2 separate regions of the Homo sapiens genome follow, and region 1 is linked to region 2. The links are contacts of gene promoters, found by promoter capture Hi-C in blood cells and fetal thymus (Javierre and others, 2016). All regions are on one chromosome and are shown on one strand. Each heading gives the region's core, a stretch centred on a gene start or on the middle of the fragment in contact. The rest is flanking DNA. Distances are from core to core; before and after follow the strand shown.

Region 1 (2,700 bases), core at 87-2,586, 1.2 Mb before region 2:
ACAATAAATATCTCAAACCTGGCTCTTCCAGTATCATGTGTCTGTCTTCAACACCCTCTCATGAAAGGCCTTTGGAACTGAGAAGTGTCAAATGGCTCAGCTACAAGGAGAGGAGAAATGCAGTGGCCAGGAACTACAGGCTTTGATAAAACAAGTCTCTGAAATATTGATTCTGAGCCTCTTCACCAATAAGCCATTTGGATTGGGAATATTGTCTGTCACTGAGATAGAAGCCAGTCACATTTACCTTTAATTTTATTCCTCAGATTCCCAGAAAAAAAATCTACCTACAGGTGATATAAAAATAGCTACGTCTCAAGAAAATTTAAAAGAAAGAAACATTCAGAGATTGCTGAAAACTATGTAATTATGTAATTGTGCAAGTAGGTATGACTTTTCTTCTTTATTCATTTTAAGAACAGTTTAAATTGGCTTGTACATTATAAAAATTTAGCCTTTCATCAATACTTGGATAAATAAACTGCAGCCTCCCTGGAATATAGATTATCAAGAGACAATCAAGCTGTGGTTTACTATTTCACGTAGTATGCTTTCTCTTTCAGACCTAATAAAAGCCACAACTGCATGTTTTAGTGTAGAAAGCAGAACAAAGACCCGGCAGTGTTCCTCTCATTTTAGAAAGATAAAGCTCCACAATTAATAGCATATTAGGAGTTTGACCTGAACGGTAAGAGATTTGACTTTCCTATGCTGTTTTGGCTTAACCCCATCTATAAGTGTGGTCTGTAGTGGTGACAAGTACTTGAACCTCTCTCTTTGATTCCATGACCTTTAGTAGAAACATATTTCACTGTATGTGTGTGTGTTTTCATCAAAGGCTACTTTCTTATGTGAATGTGTATTCATTTCATTAAGGACCTCTATTAGCCTGGTGGCTAATATCCCCTTCAAGCTGAAATCCCCAGCTCACAGCTCTCTGCTCTCAGACACAATGCTAGGATGCTCTTTTTTTTTTTTTTTTTGAGGAGTTTCATTCTTGTCACCCAGGATGGAGTGCAGTGGCGCAATCTTGGCTCACTGCAACCTCCACCTCCTGCGTTCAAGTGATTCTCCTGCTTCAGCCTCCCGAGTAGCTGGGATTACAGGCACCCACCACCATGCCTGGCTAATTTTGTATTTTTAGAGAGACAGGGTTTCACCCTGTTGATCAGGCTGATCTCAAACTCCTGACTTCAGGGGATCTGCCCACCCCGGCCTTCCAAAGTGCTGGGATTACAGGCTTGAGCCACTACACCCGGCTAAGATGCTCTTTAGAGCATGGACATCTGATCTAAGGCTAGCTTACCCATGTATGGGTCTGCAACCTATGAGGCAGCTTGCTGCAAGAGGCTCTCTTTTTAACAGGAGAGATGTTAATGACCTCAATCTAATGCTACCCTTTGCAATTTAGACTGAGGAGAATGGAGATCATTCAGTTAGTGGGAGGAGAGGAAAGGGTTAACTTTAAATAGAAGCACAGTCAATGAAAATTGCTGAGAAGTATTAATTATCCAAGGGAAGCATGCAGAAGATACCAAGACTGTGGTCCTGGATGGCAAGTTCCCCAAGTTTTCCTCATCCCTCCCCTCGTAGCTATGTAGTAGAAAGTAACTGGGACCCCAGTAACACCAATGCCAGCAACTTCTCTGGCAGAGAAAAATAACAGATACAGGGAGAAGGGACCCACCATTACAGGCCAAATACCGCAGACTCCTAGTATTTCATGTTTGCCCAGTGTGTCTGTATTCCTTGTAACTATCACCCAAACATTTGCAATTTCTTCAGCTTTCAAGGATCACACTTCCTTTAACAAATAAGATTAGTTAGGGCTGTCATCCTGTTTTATTTTAGGAAGTCTAGTATTTTTTTTTTGATCCAAAACATGTTTATATATTCCACCCATTTGTTCTGGTTTGGAAAGCCCCTTTACCTAATCATCTTCTGGTTCCAACACCATGGCTGGTTTCTCCAGACTGTTGCTGCCTCCCTTGCTCATCCTGGGAAGGAACAAAGTTATCAGGTTAGGCTAAGATTCTGTGACTGACTCTACTTTACACCTGGGAGATGGATGGTAAGCACAAGAAGGAATGACAGTGGAGGAAGAAAAAGAAAAAATACCATGCGATTTCTTAGTCTTCTATACTTCTGAAGTCCTTCATGAAGAGTACGTGGGATGGGGAGTGTTATGGATTTAATTTAATGTTTTCTCCTTCTTTCCAAATTCATATGTTGAAATGCGAATCTGCAATGTGATAATCTTAGGAGGTGGGGCTTTGGCTACTAATTAAGTAATTAAGTCATGAGGGTGGAGTTCTCATGAATGAGATTAGTGTCCTTATAAGGAAGAGGCATGAAGAAATGATTAGTCTGGTGAGACCATGTGAAGATATGATGAGAAGATGGCTGTCTATGAATCAAGAATCAAGACACAGAAACTGCCGGCACTTTGAACTTGGAGTTTCCATCCCCCAAAACTGTGAGCAATAAATGTTTGTGGTTTAAGCCACCCAGTCTATCATATTCTGCTGCAGCATTCTGAGCTAAAATACGGGGATGGAGCAAATGGGGGTGCTGAAGGGATGCAACTTGTTCTGCCAACATGTTACAGGCAGTATTTCCCAGTTTTAAAAGAAAAATACCTTTGGTTATGGGTTCCCTTCCTGGGGTCCCGTTCCCCTAAAGTCTTTTGACGTCCAGCAA
Region 2 (2,700 bases), core at 145-2,644:
TATTGTATCTTGATGCTTTCAGTAGAATGGTTCACCTTATAACCTCTACATGGCAGGATGCATAATCACCAGTTTATTCTGTAATACCTGAGCAAAAATTCAGCCTAGCTAATATGGCCTCTTTCACCACACTGACAAGATAAGGATGACGTCCACTTAGTTGGCCACCACCAGTATCATAATATTAGATAGTAGTTTAAAAATATATAATGGAAACTAGCTGGTGACCACCACTTTACTTCCAGTTTTGAAATTGCTGACTCATCCTATTTAAGAATCTGTTGTAAGCATCATTTAAGAATTAGTTTGGTTTAGACATACTTTGAAGTCAACATAGTTTTTAATGCATGGAATTACATAAAGTCAAATGAACTATATACCCTTGCTACATGCGGTCTTAATAACACTTGAAAAAATTGGCTGGATTTTCATTTAAAAGCCACCTTGAATAATGATTTTATTTCAGTGAAATTCGCTCGTATTTTTTCCAAGTTCCTTCGACATTCTAGATACACTATCGCTTCTCTAAGAGATAACTGGCTGGCGCAGAGTTGGAACCAATACAGACCCAGGCCTGACTGCCAAGCACTGACCATTCCTGCAAATTTCTCTCCCAGAAGACGTGTGCAAGCAAAGAAGAGGGCGATAATTTGATTTTGCAAAGGTAGGGATAGACGCGCACGCACAGACATCTGCACCGGCCCACAATGAGTTTGGGACGGGAGCAGTTAGGAAGTGGGGAGCTGCGGTACCTTTTCTTGGCCTTCCTGAGCTTGACTGGGTGCAGAACTCAGCCCTCAGGGCTGCGGGACAGCGTCTTCTCAGAAACCCGCAGCTTGGCTGGGGCCGCCAGACGCGCGTCCCTCACCCTCCCAGCGGAGCGCGGGGTGCCCGGCCCGCCTTGCGCTAGCCAGCAGCCTGGAACGCCGTAAGAGCGCAGCGCAGTAGGGAGTCGCACGCCAGGGGCAAAGGGACCTGCGATCTGCGCTCCTCCGGAAGCGGGAGGATGGCTAGGAGAGCCTCAGAAGTGTCATTAAAGGAAAAACCAAAAATTGAAGTTGCGGCTAAGTTTTCCCCATGAGAAGGCGGGGCAGCTCGGCCAGTAGGATAGACCGGAGGGTAACGCTGGAGCTGGGAGGGGCCCTGGGCGTAGGCTTTCGGGGAAAATTCCATCGCCCTTTCAACCACCACCACTCCCCTCCCAAGGCAAAGAAGCCGAGCTCTGTACCTCCATCGAGTCCTGGCTGCAGGGTGGGGGGCGACAGCCACCGCAGCCGGGAGGGTGCGGCCACCCAGTTCCCTCCCGGGGGGCGCCGGACTTCGAAGGCAGTGAGCGAGTCAGCTGGGATTCCCCCGGGCGCCTGCCACCCGGAGTCCCAACCCCTGGCGAAAAGAAAAGTGAAAGAGAAAGAGCCGGGAGCATAGGCGAAGACAAACACCTCCCGCGGAGACTGGGGGTGGGGCGGGTGGCGGCGGCTCCTGGATGACTGACTGCCCCAGGTGTCACTGCTTCCCGGCCTGTTTCCGTCCCTGCCGGGGCCTGGGGCGCAGAACTTGCAGGGCAAGCGCAAGGACATCGAGGAGCCCCAGCCCCGCCCTGCAGGAACACCAGCCACCGGTCTCCTCCTCTACCTGCCGGGACACCTGCAGAGAAGGCACAAGGATAGCCGCATCCCAAGCGACGGGCACCATGTGGGAAGCTTCCGCAGCTGAACCTGGAGACCCGGGCTGGGCTGGCGCGCATCCAAGTCTTCCTGAGGAAAGGGAAAAGGATGTCGGATCTGGATGCTGGGCGGCTACTCTAGACCGGCCTCTTGGTCCCCGCACAGGCTGCAAGAAGGAAACTTTGAAGTCCAACTAGGGGAAATGTTGGAAGAAGACACCCGGGTGGCAGCTTTGTGCAAGACAGTTGGTACAGGGAGTGAACTTAGAGCAATGAGCCTCTCTGCGGATCACTTTTCCAGCCTATTGTGTAGTCCAGTGTAAAATATCACACATGGTCCCATTTGATGGAAGCGTGAGATGTTGTTCTTGTAGTATTTTTACATTGGAGGAAGGAACTGAGTTGAGGCTGAGTGATTTGCATGCCATAAAGGCAGTAGCAAAGATCTCACGCTTAGTTTTGAAAGTACTTTGCAGAATCTTGCACTCTTGTGAATCACTGAAAATCCCTCTTGTACGGTGCTTTCCAAATTTTCAGAGTCATGGTTCAGAGAAAATGATGTCTTCCTGGAGCGCAGTTTAATTTAGTTTAAAATTTAATTATGTTTTTAATTACATAAATATGATAAATATCAAATAGAAAAATAATAGAAATTATTCACTTTCCATGTACATAAAGTTCCGTATAATATAATTTCATATTTTTATGAAAAATTTGAGTTTATTTTCATTAACTCAATTTTTTGATATCAGTTTTATATTTGAAATAATTACTGATGGACTTTTTGATGAGAATTACATCAAACTCTAGATAGTCTCCATTAACAAAATAAGTGAGGTATAAAAATGCAAAAACAGTTTTTACAACCATTCAAAATTTCACCATAGTTGGAAATTATATTTAAGAATATGAAGCCATCATCCATTTCTGTTCATGACGATGTCATGTTGAATTTTCTTGTGATGGTGTCAATGGATTTCAAGACCAGTCAGAATTTTTCATAGCAATACATTGAAGCTCTGATTTGCAGAATGAGC

The links. The method cuts DNA at HindIII sites, captures the fragments that hold promoters and counts their contacts. A CHiCAGO score of 5 or more calls a contact.
Region 1: a contact is called between a fragment that was not itself captured here and the fragment with the promoter of IL15 in region 2, in 1 of 17 cell types (total CD4 T cells). The highest score is 5.2, in total CD4 T cells.

What each region holds. Positions count from the first base shown.
Region 1 is chr4:142,856,529-142,859,228 of GRCh38, reverse strand. The region is part of intron 3 of USP38-DT (USP38 divergent transcript); the gene reads left to right. LOC124900788 (a long non-coding RNA gene) reads right to left here. Exons shown (of 2, transcript XR_007058286.1): 2 at 1,820-1,997. Among named protein-coding and RNA genes, the nearest start is that of INPP4B, 12 kb to the right of the region's middle. The HindIII fragment of the contact is 4,240 bases long and covers 1-2,700 here.
Region 2 is chr4:141,635,277-141,637,976 of GRCh38, reverse strand. It overlaps IL15 (interleukin 15), which reads right to left and starts at 1,394. Exons shown (of 8, transcript NM_000585.5): 1 at 1,229-1,394. RefSeq lists an enhancer at 1,392-1,481. The HindIII fragment of the contact is 10,361 bases long and covers 1-1,702 here.